4 separate regions of the Homo sapiens genome follow, and all the other regions are linked to region 1. Evidence: promoter capture Hi-C in 16 types of primary human blood cells and fetal thymus (Javierre and others, 2016). All regions are on one chromosome and are shown on one strand. Each heading gives the region's core, a stretch centred on a gene start or on the middle of the fragment in contact. The rest is flanking DNA. Distances are from core to core; before and after follow the strand shown.

What was found. The method cuts DNA at HindIII sites, captures the fragments that hold promoters and counts their contacts. A CHiCAGO score of 5 or more calls a contact.
Region 2: a contact is called between a fragment that was not itself captured here and the fragment with the promoter of MAP2K3 in region 1, in 1 of 17 cell types (naive CD8 T cells). The highest score is 5.6, in naive CD8 T cells.
Region 3: a fragment that was not itself captured here is called in contact with the fragment with the promoter of MAP2K3 in region 1 in 1 of 17 cell types (naive B cells); the score reaches 5.9 in naive B cells.
Region 4: a fragment that was not itself captured here is called in contact with the fragment with the promoter of MAP2K3 in region 1 in 1 of 17 cell types (naive B cells); the score reaches 5.0 in naive B cells.

What each region holds. Positions count from the first base shown.
Region 1 is chr17:21,283,136-21,288,061 of GRCh38, forward strand. MAP2K3 (mitogen-activated protein kinase kinase 3) reads left to right here and starts at 1,576. Exons shown (of 12, transcript NM_145109.3): 1 at 1,576-1,834. The coding sequence starts at 1,786. RefSeq lists enhancers at 648-1,148, 3,225-3,284, 4,425-4,926, 4,496-4,926 and a silencer at 1,035-1,564. The HindIII fragment of the contact is 5,771 bases long and covers 1-2,555 here.
Region 2 is chr17:21,089,838-21,095,011 of GRCh38, forward strand. LINC01563 (long intergenic non-protein coding RNA 1563) reads left to right here. Exons shown (of 2, transcript NR_110896.1): 2 at 431-776. Among named protein-coding and RNA genes, the nearest start is that of LINC01563, 17 kb to the left of the region's middle. The HindIII fragment of the contact is 212 bases long and covers 3,407-3,618 here.
Region 3 is chr17:21,484,607-21,489,935 of GRCh38, forward strand. No RefSeq gene overlaps it. Among named protein-coding and RNA genes, the nearest start is that of LINC02693, 64 kb to the right of the region's middle. The HindIII fragment of the contact is 210 bases long and covers 2,353-2,562 here.
Region 4 is chr17:21,059,183-21,064,074 of GRCh38, forward strand. No RefSeq gene overlaps it. Among named protein-coding and RNA genes, the nearest start is that of LINC01563, 14 kb to the right of the region's middle. RefSeq lists an enhancer at 2,801-2,920. The HindIII fragment of the contact is 2,550 bases long and covers 956-3,505 here.

The DNA of each region.
Region 1 (4,926 bases), core at 326-2,825:
AGTGCCAAGCCCTAGGCCAGGTGTTTCCACTCCTGAACTCATGAAACGCTTTCAGAGACCTTATTGTCCCCATGGGATAGGTAAACTGAGGCACAGAGCTGCTCAGTGACTTCTTTAAGGTCATCCAGCTAGTAAGTGGAGGAATTGGTATTGGAACCCATACCTATCTGAGCCCCAGACTCATGATTTTCCATCCCACTGCCTGGGAAGGGTGAACAGGAGACGCAGGAAGAGAATGGTGATGGCTGCAAGGCTTCCCTCTTATCTCCTGTGGCTCCCCACTCTGTGCATGGGGCCCTGCATCACCCCCACTTTACACCTGGGCAAGCAGAGGTCAGGCCCGGCCTCAAGCCTTTCTAGCAGGTGGTGGAATCTGCTTCCCTCACGTGAGGTCCCTGACAGGGTACACATGTCTGCCTGGAGGCCAGGGGCTGACCCCTTGACCTTTGCCTGGTACATTCTGCCTTCACTAGCCCTGGCTTTACATCCAGAGTCATCTGTTCCCAGCGCCAGATTGGTCAGCGGTTCCTGAAATCCCCCGAGGTTCCGTGTGGGAGCAGAGGGAGGACTGGCCCATCCAGCCATTATGCAGATGGGCAGACTGAGATCCTAGGAGGAGAGGAGAGAACGAAGGTCCAGGAGAGAGCCAGGATGGGGCCTCGGGGCTCGCGGGATAAAATGCACCGCATGCCGCCTCACTCCCTCTGAGACACGGTTTCCCCCTGTGTAGAACAGGGGCAGCAGTAACCAGCCACGAAAACTCCTCGTGCTGCCTCGTCACCGGGCATCGCTGAGCTCACCACCGACCCCGCGCCCTGGCCGGGCGCCTGGAGCGCGGGCGCGGGCGACGTTTGCTGGCGCCAGGCCCTCAGTGCGTGTTAGCGAGCAGCGCCGGGAGATAGCTGTCACCGCCGCCCGCTCACAGATGCGTAGACTGAGGCTCAGGTGTCACCACCTGACCAAGGCTAGTTCCGCTACAAAGCTGCCGACTCGGATCCGAACCCGGGTCCAATTTACAGAAAAGGAAACTGAGGCCCAGAGACACTAGGGAGCTTGCTAGGGTGAGGCAGCTGCAGGTTCAGAGAGCCAGGAGGCAGCCCAGCAGCGCACTTTTAACCCCCGCCCACTTCGGCAGGCCCAGCCGTGCCACCTTTAGGGATCTCGGGTTTTTTCCAGACGACGCACCCAGGAGAACGCGCCCGCGCATCGCACCCGCCGGGGCTGCGGGTCTGGGGGTGCCGGGCTGGGCCTGGGCGCCTGCAGGGAGCAGCGGGCTCAGTGGGTCCCGGGAGTGGGTGGGGCTTGCATGTTGACGGGCAGCGCGAGGGGCGCGGCTTTAGTCCAGGGGGCGGAGCCTGACCGGACCTGGGTTTTTCGGGCGGCTGGCGGACTTGACAGAGAGCGGGAGGGGCCCGGATCCTGGGCCTAAGGAGGGTGGGGCGTGTGCTTGACAGGCAGGGACAGGCCGGCGTCTGATAGGCAGAGGACGGGCCTTGGAAACGAAAGGACCAATCGGGCACGCAGGGGCGGGGCCTGAGTCAGCGCAGTTCGGCCGGGGTCTCCCCGGCGCTGCCCAGTCTGTCTCCGGCGCCGCCCGTCGCGGACTCGTCCTTGCTGCAGTCGCCGCCGCAGTCCTCGCCGCAGTCGCCGCCGCCGCCGCCGCCGCCGCCGCTGCTCCTCCGCCTGGCCTGGGCCGTCTGCCCGCAGCCATGAGCGTGCTCGGCCCCGGTGGAGCCCGCAGTCCTCTAGATTAGTCTCCACCGCCGTCCAGGACCCACTTGCAGCATGGAGTCGCCCGCCTCGAGCCAGCCCGCCAGCATGCCCCAGTCCAAAGGTAGGCGCTCCCGGCCGGGACCTCGGCCTGACCCCGCGCCTAATCTGGGGCCGGGCTGCAAACCCCGACCTTTCTTTGGTCCCACCCCATCCTGTTCTCGACCTGGCAGCGGCGTCCGGTCCCGGAACCCCTTCCTGTTCGGGGTCCCGGGACCAGCCCCCGCCTGGGCCCTCACCTGGACCCCCACGTTAGGCCTTGGGACTGCACTCAGGCCCGAGATCACCCAGGCTGGACCCAGACTAGGACTTTGTTCTGCTCACCCCATCCAAGTCAGGAGCCTCATTCTGACCTCATTTGGGCCTTATGGCTGCAGCCTGGACATGAACTCTCCCAGTCTTCTCCCTCAGCGGGACCCAGGTGAGATTCACACTGGCCTTCACCTGGGTCCTTGGGCAGCACCCAGTCCCATTTCTAGCTTCGGGTCCCAGGGCTGTATCCAGGTTGGGATTTAACTTGAGTCTCCATCTGGGCCCCAGAGTGCTCCTGTTGTTGCGGACCTCACTGTACCCCCTATGCGGGTGCTCTGGCTACACCCCAGCTCGGAACTCCCCGTCCTTCTCTCCCCCAGCTCTTCTTATCCTTATAGGCCCTATGTTGCCCCTTCCCTGGCTGGCCTGCACCCTGTCCTGCAGCCCTGGGCTCCCAGGAACCTTCCTTGTCCTCCCACCCCTCCCTAAGGTACAGCCCCCTCTCTACCGGCCTCTCTCTGTCTTGAGTTGCAAGCTTCTCCCTGCACTGGGGGTTCTCACCCCATCTTATTCTTGTCCTGGCTGCCTGGGATCTGGGCCAGCCGCCAGGCCAGGGTGCTGGCTGTGCAAGGGATTTGCTCTTCTCCAAGTAGCTGGCCTTCCTGGAAATTTTTGTGAGGTGGCAGCAGCAGGATTTGTCATGCGGAGGGGGAAGGATGAAACTCGGAGGGCAAAAGGGGAATTTTTTTTTTTTCAGGAAGAGGAAAGGATGTTTTTGGTGCGTCGGAGTTTCAGTAGGCTGGGTTGTGCGAGAGATTTCCAAACCGGACATAGCCGTAATGAATGGGCTGCCTCCTGGCTTTCTGAACCTGCAGCTGCTTCACCCCAGCAAGCTCCCTGGTGTCTCTGGGCCTCAGTTTCCTTTTCTGTAAATTGGAAGTAATCGCACCTGCTTCTGTGGACGTGGGAGTGTGGTGTGGGGTGGTGAATAGTAAAGAGCTCTGAGGCGTTCTCTCAGCGTAGCACCTGGCGCAGAGCCGGTGCTCACCAGGGTACACTGGCTGCACACATCTCGCTATTGTTTCCATTCTTCTTGCTGGAAAGGCCTCCACTGCTGGAAGTGCAGCCTCAGAGTGAGCAGGAGGAAGCACCTAGCAGCGGGCACCTAGTGGGCACTTCATCAGGGGTCAGCCGCTCTTCTGTTCTGGAGGGTGCAGGCCAATGGGAGCCCTATGTGGGCCTGGGGAGGGCATGGGCTCTTCCTGGCCCCTGCTGCTGGCTGCTATGGTGGCTGGAGCCGGGTGGGCTGGATAATTATGCCTTACATAAGTGGGAGGCCGGATCCCTGACCATTGCCCAACCACTGTGAGTAACTCGGGAGGCACTCGACGGGGGAGGTGTCTGGGGAGGGACTTGCACTGCACAGACCTCGTGGAGCTTGGGAACCAGGAAATCAGACACTTCTCCACTCTGGAGAGCTCGGGGAAGGGTAGGAAGCACTGTTTGTTTTGGAGGCTTTTTAGCTCTCCAGGCAGAGAATGCCTCATCAAAATAAAAGTTCCAGTTGCAGAGTTGTGAAAGGAGAGGGGTCATAGATGCAGTGAGAATGCTGTGAGAGGGCCAAAATGAACTTCTAGATGTGGACCCAGGTCCTAGATGAGGTTGAGGGGGCTGGATGGAGGGTCAGGGACCTCCCTCAGGCCCAGGGACTCTGTAGTCTCTTTGGGGTCTGGGGAAGGATGTGGTGGCAGAGCCACAATGCCCTTCACCAAAAACCCTATGAGCTCCTTCTTTTTTTCCATGTGCCATGCATTTTCTCATTTATTCCTCATAGCCCCATTTACTGATAAGGAAACTGAGGCGTTAAGTGCCTTGCCTGAGGCCACACAGCTGTGACAGGCGGAGCTAGGGTTCCCCCTAGGACTGTGTTTCCACAGTGGCCTTCCCCGTGCTCCCCTATGTGCCCCTCCCATGCTGGATGCCTGAGCTGAGCTGGTGGGGTGCCCCCACCCCTGGCCTTGCTCAGAGCATGTGCAGTGGGCCTGTCCTCATGGCCACGTCAGACCTAGAGGACAGACTGAGGCAGAGGTGATGCCTCTCCTGTGCACAGCGCTTTACACTGGGCCTGTTGCATTCTCGCTGCAAAATCCCACTCATTTGACAGATGCAGAACTCAGCTTGGATGGAGGAGTGGCCGGACTGCCCCCATAGGTGGAGAGCCTCACTCTGTGCCCACCCCATCCTGGGCACTGGGCCTCCCAGCACTGATCCCTTCTCCACCTTCTCAAAGGAATTTGAACAAAGCAGGGAGTGGCTGGCGCTTGACCTTACTGGAGCTTTACCTTTGAGCTTCCTGCCTGGCAGCAGGTGCCCTGCACTGTTTCCATGCCATGGGCCTGGGGAGTTTTCTATGAGTGTGTGAGGCCCTCAGGCCCACAGCTCTGCTGGTTTTCCCCTGGCCTCCTTGCCCACATGGCCATCTCTGGCTGGGGTTAGAGGCCAAGTGGCTGGCGCTGGGGCCAGTGGGTGGGGGCATGTGTGCAAGCCACATTTGTCCTTGGAGGGTACCACACGTGTCCTGTTGTCGTTCAGAACATGGGTTCTGCCCCTTCTGCCCTAAGAGTGCCACCTGTGGGAGCACTTCATGGCTAATCTTCACACAGCTTGGACTGTGGCTGTAGGACTCCTGACTGCCCGATGGTGACACTGAGGTTTCATAGAGCACTGTTGTATCCTAGCCCTGCCTGCTGTGGCCACCCCCCCAACCCCTGGCTGTCGGAAAGACTGGAGGTGGCACCTCGGGGACTTCCCCCACCCCTCTTGTGACGCACAGGAAACTCTCTGTCAGCCAACCCATGGCCCAGCGCCCAAAGGGAGCAAAGTTCTCAGTTGGCCCGTGTGAGG
Region 2 (5,174 bases), core at 2,263-4,762, 190 kb before region 1:
TTTTCTGTCTTTTTTTAGTAATTGCCTAAGTGGTTGCCTTGTAAATTACATATGACATCTTAAACTTGTAACAACCTAGTTTGAAAAATACCACCTTAGTTTAAGTAGTACATAAACACTCTCGTCCTATGTCCAACAGTAAAAGTTAATGGAAGATTATAGCAACCCAATAAAAATGAGATCACTAAGGCCTCAGATCCTTCAGGAATAAAATTTTAGGTTATTCCTCCAGATACAGAACGCTGATCAGCTGAGAGGGTGGCTGAGGGCAAAGGTAGCAATGAAACAGATAGTGAAAGAAGGAAGTTATAAATATTAATGATGGTCTCTGACTAGTTATAGTAAAGAAGACTGTAGTAAATATGCATACTTTAGTCTGTTTGTATTTGTATATATGAATCAATTTCAGTTTTATTTCTCTTTTCTCCAGCTATTTTACATAAGGAAAGTGGGTGGTGATTAACCTCAGAGTCTCCAGGGACAGACTATCCAGGACTGTGCCTGAAATAGAAGAGGAATTAACATCATACAGAACTGAATACGGTGACTGAGGGGAGTTTGTGTCTCCCCTTTTAGGAAAGAAGATGAGAATAAGTATGAAGGAGAGTCATGTACTGTACATTAAGCAAAAGCATGATGCTGTTATTTGAAATGTTAATTAGAGGTGCCCACTAAAAACTGCTCAGCAATTTTCTTGGAGACCTCAGTGCTCATGTTATTCTTTCCTCTATCTTATGTTTTCCTCTCTCCTGCCCTTTTCAGAAACAGTCTACAGCAGAAGCCATTGACCCTGTTCAAATTACAGAAGAGCCCTTTTTGAATTTATGAAAATCCTGAAATATTAAAATTTATTATTTTAATATTAATATATTAAATTAATATATTAATCTACCCGCCTCGGCCTCCCAAAGTGCTGGTATTACGGGCATGAGCCACCGAACCCAGCCTCATGTTATGACTTTCCAACCATAATTTAGTGTTAACAAAGTAATCACAAAAGTAATATATTAGTTTGAAATTAGTAATGCCCACCAGATTCAATCACTAAAAAATGTGATATCATTAAAAACCATTTTTCTACATGTTAACAAGAGCCAACTTCTGTCCCAAGCAGGTTGAATTATCACAATTTCCTGATAAGCAGAGTCCAGCTTCCTAATTCAAACTCTCAAACTCATTGTTAAATAAGCCCAGAGGAGTTGGACATTTTCCATCACGCATGTGGGAAGAAAGAAGGCCAACGATGCTCTTCAGATTTAACAAGTAAACCTTAAAAGTATCTGTTAAGAATACAGAGATGCCCATGACAACACTATCACCAGAGCAACAACTATCAACTAAGGTAACCATGTAGAAATAATGTCCTTTTTGTAGGTCTTCTTTTCTTCCTTTTTCTTTTTCTTCTTTTCCTTTTTTTTTGGTGCAAGACATGGCAACAATTTCTAAAGTCTATGTTTACATTATACTTGCAAGAAAAGGCTTATTTTAATCACAGCACAAGTGGGTAACTGTTACAGATATTCACATGACTCTGCACTTCCCATTTGACAGCAGAGGGCAGGATTGTGGTGGCCGCTCTCAAGTTACCATCATCACAAATCAGCTTATTTAAAACAGTTTATTATGATTATAAATAATCTAAAATATTTTATTTAAAATAGATTATTTAGAATAAATTATTTTAAATACTTTGTGATGTAGAACATTCTCTCTGGCCGGGTGTGGTGGTTCATGCCTATAATCCCAGCACTTTGGGAGGCCAAGATGGGAGGATTGCTTGAGCCCAGGAGTTTGAGACCAGCCTAAACAACATAGCGAGACTCCGTCTCTACTAAAAATACATAAATGAGCTGGGTGTAGTAGCTTGCATCTGTAGCCCCAGCTACTCAGGAGGCTGAGGTGGGAGGATCACTCAAGCCCAGGAGGTTGAGGCTGCAGGGCTGTGATCGCACCACTGCATTCCAGCCTGGGTGACAGAATGAGACTGTCTCAAAAAAAAAAAAAAAAAAAAAAAAAGGGCTAGGCGTAGTGGCTCACATCTGTAATCCCAGCACTTTGGGAGGCCGAGGCAGGCGGATCACTTGAGGTCAGGAGTTCAAGACCAGCCTGGCCAACATGTGAAACCCCGTCTCTACCAAAAAATACAAAAATTAGCTGGGCGTGGTGGCACGTGCCTGTGATCCCAGATACTTGGGAGGCTGAGGTGGGAGGATTGCTTAAACTAGAGGCGGAGGTTGCAATGAGATGAGATCACACCACTGCACTCCAGCCTGGGTAACAGAGTGAGACTGTCTCAAAAATAAAATAAATAAGTAACATTTTTTTCTGACCTTCCCTGTTCTTTCTGAGACCCCCTTGTTAAATTTTAAGACTTGCAGTTTTTGAGGCCTGGTTCTGAAGTGAACTACTCAGCATTACTTGCAAAGGACAGACCTGCAAAGTGACGTTTTGCTGGCAGAAATGGAGAAGGAGCTGAGTACAGATTTCATGTAATAAAAGTGAAATGAAAATGAAGTGCACGTGGAAATGTTCTTCTCTGAAACGAATTAGACTATCCTGTATTTAGCTGTTTTGGGGAAAACATTCAATATTAATATCTCTTATGCTTCTTGAAACCACCCCCACCACCTTCTTCTTCTTTTTTTTTTTTTGAGACAGAGTCTGTCTTTTGTCACCCAGGCTGGGATACAGTCGCATGATCGTGGCTCACTGCAACCTCCACCTCCCAGGTTCACGTGATTCTCCTGCCTCAGCCTCCCAAGTAGCTGAGATTACAGGCGTGTGCCACCACACCCAGCTAATTTTTTTTTTTTTTTTGAGACAGAGTCTTGCTCTTGTTGCCCAGGCTGGAGTGCAGTGGCGTGATCTTGGCTCACTGCAACCTCCGCCTCCCAGGTTCAAGCTATTCTCATGCCTCAGCATCCTGAGTAGCTGGGATTACAGGTGCCCGCCACCACGCCTGGCTAATTTTTGTACTTTTAGTAGAGACGGGGTTTCACCATGTTGGCCAGGCTGGTCTCAAACTCCTGACCCAGGTGATCCGCCCGCCTTGGCGTCCCAAAGTGCTGGGATTACAGGCTTGAGTCACTGCATCCAGCCTTTTTTTTTTTTTTTTTTTGTATTTTTTTAGTAGAGACGGGGTTTCACCATGTTGGCCAGGCTGGTTTCGAACTCCTGACCTCATGCAATCTGCCCGCCTTGGCCTCTCAAAGTGCTGGAAGTACAGGCATGAGCCACTGCACTCGGCCACCCCTTTTTCATCTATGTTTGTGTGGTCTTTACAACTGCCCCATGAAGCAGGCATCAATTTCCATTTCACCCACAAGGGACTGCGGCTCAGAGGCCCAAATTCACACAGTTTTAGTGGTGGCTGAGGATGTGAAGCTGGCTTTCTGAGGCCTTGATAAGCTTCAGCAATAACAAGGCTGACTGATACTTATTAAGTAGTTACTATGTACCAAGACCTGTTCTATTGCGATACATAGATCCATCCATCCACCCATCCATCCATCCATATACAGTTGACCTTGAACAATCGGTGGGCGGGGGTGGGGGGGTGTTAGGAACACCAACCCCCTACACAGTTGAAAAACTGCATATAACATTGGATTCCCCCAAAGCTTAACTACCAACAGCTTACTGTTGATGGGAAGCCTTACTGATAACATAAAGTTGATTAGCACATTTTTTTAATGTTATATATATTCTACTCTGTATTCTTAACAATAAAGTAAGCTAGAGAAAAGAAACCATTATTTAGAAAACCAGGCTGGGCATGCTGGTGCACACCTGTAGTCCCAGCTACTTGGGAAGCTGAAGCAGGATGATCGCTTGAGCCCAGGAGGTTGAGGTTGCAGTGAGCCGAGATCCCGCCACTGCACTCCAACCTGGGTGACAGAGAGAGACCCTATCTCAAAAAAAAAAAAAAAAAGAAAGAAAGAAAGAAAGAAAAGAAAAGAAAAGAAAATCAGGCCGGGTGCAGTGGCGCACACCTGTAATCCCAGCACTTTGGGAGGCCAAGGCAGGAGGATCACTTGAGTCCATGAGTTTGAAACCAGCCTGGGCAACATAGTGAATTCCTGTCTCTACAAAAAATACAAAAATTAGCCAGGAGTAGTGGTGCACACCTGTGGTCCCAGATACTCTGAGGCCGAGGTGGGAGGATCACTTGAGCCTGGAGGTCAAGGCTGCAGTGAGCTGAGATTGTGCCACTGCACTCCACCATGGGTGACAGAGCAAGACACTGTCTCAGAAAAAAAGAGAAAATAAAATTATAAGGAAGAAAATATATTTAGTGGGTCGTCATAAAAGTCTTCATCCTCATCATCTTCATGTTGAGTAGGCTAAGGCAGAAGAGGATGAGGGGGAGAAAGAGGAGGAGGGAGAGGGGGAGGAGGGGTTGGTGTTGGGGTCTCAGGAGTGGTAAAGAAGTGGTGGAGGAGATGGAAGGGGAGACAGAAGAGGCAGGCACATTTTATTTTTTTAAATCCGTTTATAAATAGACTCATCCAGTTCAAACCTGTATTGTTCAAAGGTCAACTGTATGTATAATTTAAACCTCATAACAACCCAATGAGGTAGTTGAGACTGGCTCTGTCTGATGTTGACTCATTAGACTCTTCAACCCAGAACATATTTACACTTCAAAAAGTAAAAAGGAAGGCCAGCCGTGGTGGCTTACATCTGTAATCCCAGGGCTTTGGGAGGCCAAGATGGGAGGATTGCTTGAGGCTAGGAATTCAACATCAGCCTGGGCAACAATAGCAAGACCCTGTCACCACCAAAAAAAAAAAAGTTAGCCAAGCATAGTGGTGCGCACCTGTAGTGCCAGCTACTCGGGAGGCTATGGCGGGGGGAACCCTTCAACTCAGGAGTTTGAGTCTGCAGTGAGCTATGATCACACCACTGCACTCCAGCATGGGTGACAGAGTGAAAGCCTGTCTCTCAAAATAAAATAAAATAAAAACAAAAAGCTTTCAATTTCTAAAAACCTTGCATTCTGAGACAGGCCATGAATATAGAAGCTTCCAGGAAGCCTTGAAATACACCAAAAGCTTAGCATCTTATATAAACCATATCTTGTTTTTAATTAATCAAAGACAGAAATTTCTGGTTTTTATCAAAAGAAGACAAGCAACCTCCAATGACAATTGATGACATCTGTATAATAATTT
Region 3 (5,329 bases), core at 1,208-3,707, 200 kb after region 1:
GAAGTTAAAAATTAAAACACAACAGATTAGCCTCAGATGATGATAGAAATTATAAGAATATCCATATGTGGAATTGTCTAGAATATATAGCAATAAAGATTTGCAAACTGTGAAAGATCATCAGGAGACTGGAGAATTGAAATGAGAATATGCAAAATATGCTTGACAATAATTACAAAAGGAGAAAATGCAGATAATGAGAGAACGGTCCTATTCAAAGGGATAATGGCTAAGGAATTTCTGGAATTGATGAAAACTATTGATCTTTAGATTCCAGAACCACAATGAGTGCCAAGAATAAATGAAAGTAGATAATATGCAGAAGTATTGTGATACTGAAGTAAATCAACCAAAATTAATGTTTAAGAGACCCAGAATCTCAAAAGTATCCACCCACAAGATAGTTTGCACTCAGAAATGGAAACGGGAGAAGGTTACAGTGGAGAAAGCATAATTTTATAAAACACACTCACCCAGGTGGTTGCAGTCCAGGGAGAAAGCCCACCTCACCCTCACAGCAGGGGAGAAACTGGCTTCATGTTTCTTGTTAGCGGTTGCACTGAAAAAGCCCGGCATCCCCTCTGTACTGTTCCTGCTGAAAGTGCAAAACCTGATTCTCAATGTGAGGACGTATCAGGCAACCAAATGGAGGGACGTTCTATTAAATGACTAGCCTGTATCTGGAAATACATCAATATCAAGAAATCAAAGAGGTTGCAGAACAGTTCCAGATGAGACAACTGAATGAAGGCATGGTTCAGGATCTTCTTCCCCTATAAAAACAATATTGGAACCGTTGGCAAAATCCGAAGAAGATGTGAAGGTCTGAGAATTGTATTGTGTTAATGAAGATTTCCTGTTTTTGATCACTGTACTGTGATAATGTAAGAGCTGCCCTTGGTTTCAGAAACACACGCTCAATACTTGTAGGTAAAGGAGCATCATGTCTGCAACTGACTCTCACAGGGTCTAGGAAAATAGTGATAGTATTCTACATCTGCACCAAGAGAAGAGAATTTAGCAAATGTAGTTGAATGTTAATATGAGAGGAATCTGAAGGAATCATAAATGGATTTTTTTTGCACTACTATTGCAACTTTTTTTTTTCTTTTTTGAGATGGAGTCTTGCTCTGTTGCCCAGGCTGGAGTGCGGTGGTGCGATCTCAGCTCACTGCAACCTCCATCCCCTGAGTTCAAGCAATTGTCCTACTTCAGCCTCCTGAGTAGCTGGGATTACAGGCACCCCGCACCATGCCCAGCTAATTTTTGCATTTTTAGTAGAGGCGGGGTTGCACCACATTGGCCAGGATGGTCTCAAACCTCAGGGAATCCACCTGCCTCAGCCTCCCTAAGTGCTGGGATTACAAGCCTGAGCCACCACGCCCGGCCGCAACTTTTAAAGTGTCTGAAATTACATCAAAATAAAAGATAGGAAAAATTAGAGAAATTAATGTAGACAAGGCAGATATCTCAACAGCCACACAACAACCATGGAAAGATTTATTTATTTATTTTGAGGCAGAGTTTCACTCTGTTGCTCAGGCTGGAGTGCAGTGGTGTGATCTCAGGCTTACTGCAACCTCCACCTCCTGGGTTCAAGGGATCCTTCCATCTCGGCCTCCTGAGTAGCTGGGACTACAGGCATGCACCACCACACCCGGCTAATTTTTGTAATTTTTGGAGAGACAGGGCTTCGTCATGTTGCCCGGGCTGGTCTCAAACTCCTGAGCTCAAGCGATCCACCCACCTTGGCCTCCCAAAGTGCTGGGATTTCAGGCATGAGTCACTGCACCCAGCCAGGTTTCTTTAATATACTGAGGAAATATAACTGTCAACCAAGATTTATCTGCTTACATAGTGATCACTCAAGATTATGAATTGAATCAAAACCTTTTCAGGCAAAAAAGAAGACTTGAAGAGTTCATGGCTAAGAGAAATTGCATTGAACTAAGTAGTAAGGATGTAGTTGAAGGAAACCAAAATATTTCACCCCATAATATATTTGGACACATTTTGAGATGGCTGTTTAGAGGGGCCTGCAAACAGAAGCAGCCCTGCAAAGCTGTCTTTTGAGGGGAAGGTTTGCATCTGTAGAGAATCCGCACTGACGCAGGCAAGTTTCCTCTGAAGCCTTCCCTTGTCTGGATCTAGGAAGGAGTCCCTCACAGTCTGACATATTTAGCCATCAGAAAGAAACATTTACCATCTATTCTCTCCGAGGACTGCTGTCTGTGTGGTTCTGTCTGCATTCTGAGACCACCTTTGCCAGCCAGGCCTCCTCCTCCCTCTCCCCTAACCTGTCTTGCTGTCATCCCAGCCTCTGTTCCTTCTGTAATCTCAAGGCGGTAAATAAGCTTCTGCACACCATTGTGGGGTTGGGATCATCGCTCTGGTCCTTCTCCATCTGCACATTAATAAACGTGCATGCCATTTCTCCAATTAATCTGACTTTTGTGAGTTGATTTTTCAGTGAACTTTTCAAGGGCAAAGTGGAGGTTTTCTTTTGGCCCCTACAGTTTTGGTGTCCTGAACAGAATACCAAAGCTGCTTTGCTCTTCTGGAAGCTTCAGTCAGGGGACCCAGGACCTGACAAGCTGGCAGAAGGGTAACAAATTCTTACCAGCCAGGCTTCTGGCTGGTCTCTCTGTGGAATCCAGGTGAGCAGATGGTAAAAATCAGTCATTTTTCCTCTGCAAGATGTTGATTAGTGTGAGAAAGGATCTGTGTGAACAATGTTGGGTGCAGCGACTCTGGTGTACTTTTTGGTGTGAATATTCATATTGTTTAGTGCCCTTCCTTCCAGGAGGATTCTTCTCCTCTGTCTTGGTCTTCCTGTGTTCTGTCCTGAGGAGAGGACTTGTAGGGTAGAATGGGGGCTGAAGATCCTGCCAGCCCATTGTTCAGGCCAGACCTGAAGAGCAGCCAGTCTGCGGCTGAGATCAGATGGGCATTCAAACTTTGCTGTGGGTCCTCAAAATAGAAGCCAAGCCAGGTGCGGTGGCTCCCAGTCCTTGGGGAGGCTGAGGTGGGCAGATCACTTGAGGTCAAGGGTTCAAGACCAGCCTGGCTGACATGGTGAAACCCCATCTCTACTAAAAATACAAAAATTAGCCAGGCATGGTAGCGAGCACCTGTAATCCCTGCTACTCAGGAGGCTGAGGCAGGAGAACCACCTGAACCCAGGAGGCAGAGGTTGCAGTGAGCCAAGATCATGCCACTGCACTCCAGCGTGGGTGACAGAGTGAGAGACTGCGTCTCAAAACAACAACAAAAACAAAATAGAAGCCAGATGAGGACCCCTCTCATCTTGTTTTATGCCCTGGAGTGTTTGACTTGTGACAAGTGGGAGCACTGTCTCTTGTTTCTACCATCTGGGGTGTGATTTTTGGGTCCCATCAGGTGTTCAGTCTGAAGATGCCTGGGAACCTGAGATACAAGGTTTTAGGCAGCACACTTTTTGCTCTGAATGTGTCCAGCTGTTGGGAATGTTTGTCTTAATAAGAAGTCCCATCCATAAGGAATTTTTGTGGTCTGGCCCTTGTTGCCTGGATAGTCCTGGGAAAGTCCCATCCTAGGAGAGCTGTCCAGTGTCATGAATTAAGGGGTCTTTGATGGGTGTCCCCAGAAATGTGTGGGTCACCAGAGGCACTGTGTACACAAACACCATCCTAACCATGTGTGGCAACAGAGTCCGTTGCTTTGCAGGGACGTGGATGGAGCTGGAAGCCATTATCCTCAGCAAACTAACACATGAACAGAAAACAAAACACTGCATGTTCTCCTTTATAAGTGAGAGCTGAACAATGAGAGCACATGGACACAGGGAGGGGAACAACACACACTGGGGCCTGTCGGTGGTGGGGAGGGAGAGTATCAGGTTAAATAGCTAATGCATGCGGGGCTTGATACCTAGGTGATGGGTTGGTAGGTGCAGCAAACCGCCATGGCACATGTTTACCTATGTAACAAACCTGCATGTCCTGCACATGTATCCTGGAACTTACAACTAAGTTAAATTAAATTAAATTTTAAAAAGAAAGAAAAACAATAGACAAGAAATAGGAACTAAGGAGCTAATTTTTATTTTATTACTTCAACCAATAAAAACTGTGGGTTAAAATTAAAAAAAGTCTCTTCCTATCTGAGCCTGTTTCTAGGAGTGAATTTTACTGGAGGGATCTTTGGAACTGCCTATCCTCACCCTCTTCAGGAAACAAGTCTTTCTTAAATGGTAATAGCCTACTCTAAGCCTGAAAAACCACATCCGGGGCTTTCCATGAAGAGGCTGTGGGATGGAGTTGCTATTAGAGTAAGTACATCATTGGAAATTCTAGCCATTAGCAGCCAAAAGATGGATTCTTTAAGTCAGAAAGACCTCTAAATTACAAAAAATAGTTTAGAGATTTCTTATTCTAAACAACTGCCTTATTTATGTTCATTGGAAGATTAAATTAAAAGACACATCATAGTGTCATGGCTTGCCTTAGAAATCCTCTTGATGAGGTTAAAGAGCAAAAGTCTGACCTGAAACAAAGCTAAAATCCTTCATATGCTCCAAATGCCTGCCCTGGGTCCCTTGTGGAATCTGCAGTGCCAGCCACTCCACCTTGCAGTCTATTTTTTTTTTTCTTGAGACAGAGTTTCACTCTTGTCACCCAGGCTGGAGTGCAATGGCACAATCTCGGCTCACTGCAACCTCCAACTCCCAAGCTCAAACGATTCTTCTGCCTCTGCCTCCAGAGTAGCTGGGATTACAGGCATGTGCCACCATGCCCAGCTAATTTTTGTATTTTTAGTAGAGACTGGGTTTCACCATATTGGCCAGGATGGTCTCAATCACTTGACCTCGTGATCTGCCTGCCTCGGCTTCCCAAAGTGCTGTGATTACAGACGTGAGCCACTGCACCTGGCCCCACCTTGCAGTCTTGTTGTTAAAATTCCACACATTCACTGCCATGGCCTGGGTGCAGGTCCTGGTCAGGAAGCCAGTCGCTTTTGGTTTGATATTTGTGTGACTTTTGACTTTGTGGCGTACCCACTTGTCATTGATCCTTTCCCCTTCCATAGACAGCTTTTGGTTTTCTGTCATCTCCTGTTTGAGGGGTTACACGGGGCTCTTAGGCTTTTGTGTGTATATGGTCAGCTGAAAGGCTGAGACCCTGGAAGATATGACTGGCAGATGTGGGTTGTACCCCATTTGTGGCTAGCAAAACTTTCCTTTCTTTGAGCTGTCTTTGAGGTGGTTCTGGATCTGGTGAGGACTGCTGTGCTCCTCTCTGGAGATGCCTCATGTGTCCTTGGTTAAGTCATAATCTTGATTAAGCCTTAT
Region 4 (4,892 bases), core at 981-3,480, 220 kb before region 1:
TTAAGCTGGGCACAGTGGCTCATGCCTGTAATCCCAGCGGCTCACGCCTGTAATCCCAGCACTTTGAGAGGTCGAGGCAGGCAGATCACGAGGTCAAGAGATCAAGACCATCCTGGCCAACATGATGAAACCCCGTCTCTACTAAAAATACAAAAATTAGCTGAGCATGGCGGCACACACCTGTAGTCCCAGCTACTTGGGAGGCTGAGCCAGGCGAATTGCTTGAACCAGGGAGGCAGAGGTTGCAGTGAGCCGAGATTGTGCCACTGCACTCCAGCCTGGGCCACAGAGCAAGACTCCGTCTAAAAAAAAAAATTAGCTGGGCGTGGTGGTGGGCACCTATTATCCCAGCTACTTGGGAGGCTGAGGCAGGAGAATCACTTGAACCCAGGAGATGGAGGTTTCAGTGAGCCAAGATTGTGCCACTGTACTCTAGCCTGGGTGACAGAGTGAAACTCCATCTCAAAAAAGAAAGAAAGAAAGAAAGAAAGAAAGAAAGAAAGAAAGAAAGAAAGAAAGAAAGAAAGATGCTTTTGTTTAAGCAGAAAAGGACACCATTGCTGGGTGCAGTGACTCAGCCTATAATCCCAATATTACAGGATCCTTGAGTGTCACTTCAGCAGCCAGAAACCTCTGTGGCCAGTGGCACCTTTGTCCAAGTTTTGCTCTGGCCTGTTTGGGCTCATTCTGCCCACTCGGCCTGGCAGGCTGTGCTCAGCTTGCGCTACTGGCTTAGATCTCATACTTGCCAAGGGTGAGCCAGGTGAGGAGCGGCAAGGGGTGTGTGAGCAAGCATGGGGCCCGGCCACTGTGCACAGCCAGGCACGCCGGTTATGGCCAGGCAGGCAGTTCTAGGCACCTGTACAGGCACCAGCTTCCTGCGAGGCTGTGGCTAGACCAGGCATACCATAAGCAACTTCCACAGCTGACACTGAGGAACACAGTGGTGCCTGGAAGCTTGGAGACACCAGGAACCACAGAGCCATAAAGGGGGAGGCACAACCCTGGCTCAGGGAGCTCCTAGGTCTGGGTTCCCCAAAGGGCCACAGCTCTTCTCTCCTCTCTTTTTTTCTCCTTGTCACCCATAACATGGCAAGCAAGGGGTGTGTTTCAGCCCTGTTTGTGTTACAGCTCTCTTAGCCCTGCAATTTAGCAGGTCCTGAGTTCTTGTCCTGTGTCCGGGAAGAATGAAGTACTCAGATAAGTGAAGGGTGAGCAAGATGAAGAGGAGCTTTATTGAGCAATGGAACAGCTCAGAGGAGAGCCACGGTGAGTAGCTCCTCTCCGTAGCCAGGGTGTCCCAGTGAGTGTTCAGCCCTTAATAGAGAGGGTAGCTCCTCTCTCCTAGGCAGGTCGTCCCGATGAGTACTTAGCGCTCAGTAGAGAGGGTAGCTCCCCCGCAGAGAAGGTTGTCTTGTCATTTCCCTGCTCTCAGCAGAGAGGAGACCTTAGAGTGGGTAGCTCCTCTCCACAGCTGGCAGTCCCGACATCTCTTCTGGTCTGGCTAAGTCCAGGGTTTTTATGGGCCTCAGAAGGGAGGAAGCACATGCCAATTGGTCCATGGGCAGCCATGGGTAGGCCCAGAAAAAGCACCACAAGTTCCCATTCCAGTCCACAGGACCAGCAGCCCAGCCCCCGGGCTTCAGGCCCTCCCTAGCTTGAAGTTGGGGCTTCACTGGGGACCCGTCGCCTTCCACCCTGGGGCCTGTATGCCTCCTGCTGCCATTCATGAAGCCTAGGCTGTTCATGCCAAAGGGTGCCTGCAGACCAGCACCAAGCTGCCCTCAGCCCACTGTCAGCCTCCTTCCCATGCTCATCAGTGCCCAAGTCCAGAGGGGGCTGAGGTGGCAGGGGGCTGGTATGTCAGTGCTGCCCTGAGTGTGTGCACACCTGGCTGGTCTGTGACAGTGCCCAGGCTCAGCCCCATCCTTGCTTCAAGATTGTAGTGGGTGCCAGGAGCAGGGAGAGGCCAGATAGTGGGAGCAGACACTCCCAGCATGTGGGAGGAAGGGGGGCCATCCTGGTCCCCAAGAGTGCAGAGATGCCTGGGTCCTCAGCCACGGCTTGGGCAGCTGCAGCTGCCCCCAGGAGGGTAGGGCTCCTGCCTGCTTCCAGCCCCCAAGAGTACAGGGAGGCCAGGGTCCCTAGCTGTGACTTGGGCTGCTGCAGCTGTGCTTGGGAGGGTGGGGCTCTTCTGCTTCTGGCTCCTCCCAGTACCATGGAGCATGGCACTGCCCTGGGTCCAGCTCCGCCTAGGAGCCCCTTTCTGCCCGTCCCTCCGTGCTCTACCGTGCTGCTCCCCCACTGGCAGGCAACTCAGCCTGGCCCCATCTTGGTGGCTCCCAGGGTGGCCGGCTTTGGAGGGCTCCCAGGGGTGGGCTCCAAGGACTGCTCACCTCCTCTCTGTGTTTTCCCTGCAGTGGTGGCAGGTGAGGTGCAGGTGGCAGGGCGACCCTGGCCAACCCCGCACAAATGAACCTGATGCTCTCAGGGCTGGCCCTGAAAGCCCCAGCTGTGCCTTTGGCTCGGTGCTCACGGGCTCCCGGGATGTGGTGGGGAGCGAGGTTGAAGCCACAGCAGAGGCTCTGGGCCTGGGAGAGCGTCCTGCCTGGCTATGTGAGGGTGGGGATGATGCCATTGGCTGCCTCTGAGATGGGGCACAGGGGACCCACCACTGCCACTGCTGCTCCTGCAGCCACTCCTGCCTCCTGCCACCACTGCCTGTACCTCCCTGCTGCAGCTGGCATGATGGCAGTGGCCACTCCGGATGTCCCACTGCTGCCATCAACAACACTTTGGGAGGCCAAGGCAGGAGGAGCACTTGAGGTCACGAGTTTGAGACCAGCCTGGGCAACACAACAAGACTTCATCTCTAAAATAAATAAATGAAAAGACAAAGAAACCACCCAAATTCTAGGAGGCCACAGAGTGAGAACCCCTCCAGTTACCTCCACCAGAAAATGGGCCTGGGAAGCATGTTTGCACTGTCTCCTGCGGTCCCTCCCAGGCACGCCCATGTGGTGGATCCTGATCATGTGTTGTACCCTTGAGGAAATGGAGTCTGCGAAAGTGAATTTCTGGCCTTCCCATCCTGAAGATGAGAGACCCTTGATGTGGAACGTTCCCCAAACAGAGGGTGGCTGTTCACTAGGTGCTGGGAGGCCACTGGAGTGTGACAGAGGCCCTGTCGGCAGCCACCAGGAAGCACAACCAGAAACAGAAACTCAGTGCATTTCCCTTAGTGTTGGTGTCAGAGTCTAATTTTCAAAATGTTAAAAACATAATCCTCATAAAAACGAGTAGTGAGCATGGCATGAAAATTGTGTTTAACTCATTAGTGAGGGAACCAGCAGGAAGACATAGACAAGACAAAAGACGATATGAGGAAAAGGGAATTTTATAATCAGTAATGGGAAACGGAATACTGAGATAATATTTGCTCATCAGCTGGAAAATGTTAATGCTCCACCACAATCCTTCTCAAACCAGAGCACACAACAGAAGAAGCTTGGGGTGCCTGGCTGCACCCCGAGTTTGTGATTTTGTAGGTCCAGAGCGGGGCCTGAGAATCCACATTCCCAAGTGCTGCTGCTGGCCCAGCACCACGCTCTGAGAATCATATTCTCCAGGGAAATGCAGCTCTGGAGTGGGCTTTTCTGCTGGTGACAAAGGAAAATCACTGCACCTTATTGGTTGTCTGCTCATTAATCTTTAAGTTTAGAGAGTTGTAAATGTCTGGGTTCTAATCAGGAGTAAATGGTAGGCTAGGCAGAGGCATATCCCTCAAAGCTGTAATGTCTAGCAGGAAATTAAAAATCAGTTTACCTTATTTTCAAGCTTTGGATAAGTTTTCTTAACAGTGGTGCTGATGACACAAATGTCTTCTTTTTTTTCTTTGAGACGGAGTCCTGCTCTGTCACCCAGGCTGGAGTGCAATGGTGCAATCTTGGCTCACTGCAACCTCTGCCTCCTGGGTTCAAGTGATTCTCCTGCCTCAGCCTCCTGAGTAGCTGGAATTACAGGTGTGTGCCACCACACCTGGCTAATTTTGGTATTTTTAGTAGAGACGGGGTTTCACCATGTTGGCCAGGAAGCTCTCAAACTCCTGACGTCACGATCTGCCCACCTCGGCCTCCCAAAGTGCTGGGATTACAGGCGTGAGCCACTGTGCCCAGCCCACAAATGTCTTAATAGATTATTTATTTTGCATTAATTCCTCCAAACTGCCAAAGCAGAGATTGCCATATATCATGTTGGGTAATATTTTCCACTAAGAAGAAGGAAAAAAGAGTAGAGAAGAAAAATACCATTACCATCCATGTGCATGACTCTTTGTAGGTTTTTGTTGTTGCTGTTGTTGTTGTTGTTTCTGAGACGGAGTTTCACTCTTGCAGCCCAGGCTGGAGTGCAGTGGCGCAATCTCGGCTCACTGAAACCTCCGCCACCTGGGTTCAGGCAATTCTTCTGCCTCAGCCTTCCGAGCAGTTGGAACTACAGGCGTGCGCCACCACACCCGGCTAATTTTTGTATTTTCAGTAGAGACAGAGTTTCACCATTTTAATCAGGCTAGTCTCAAACTCTTGACTTCAGGTGATCTGCCTGCCTCGGCCTCCCAAAGTGTGTGGATTACAGGCGTGAGCCACTGCGCCCGGCCTCTTTGTAGGTGTTAAAGGGCTTTTCCACATCTGATCTCTTGTGACCCTTGCCATAATCCTGTGAGGTGTGTGCTTTCATCCCATTCTTGTGGACAGGTAAACGGAGCCTCTGGGAACTCAAATCACCTCCCCAAGGTGACAGTGGATACAAGCATCAGAGGGTATCGTCCCCACAGAATGCAGGAGACTACATCCTGAAGTCAGTGGAATGTGGGCTTTGGCCACAGTCCTTGTCTC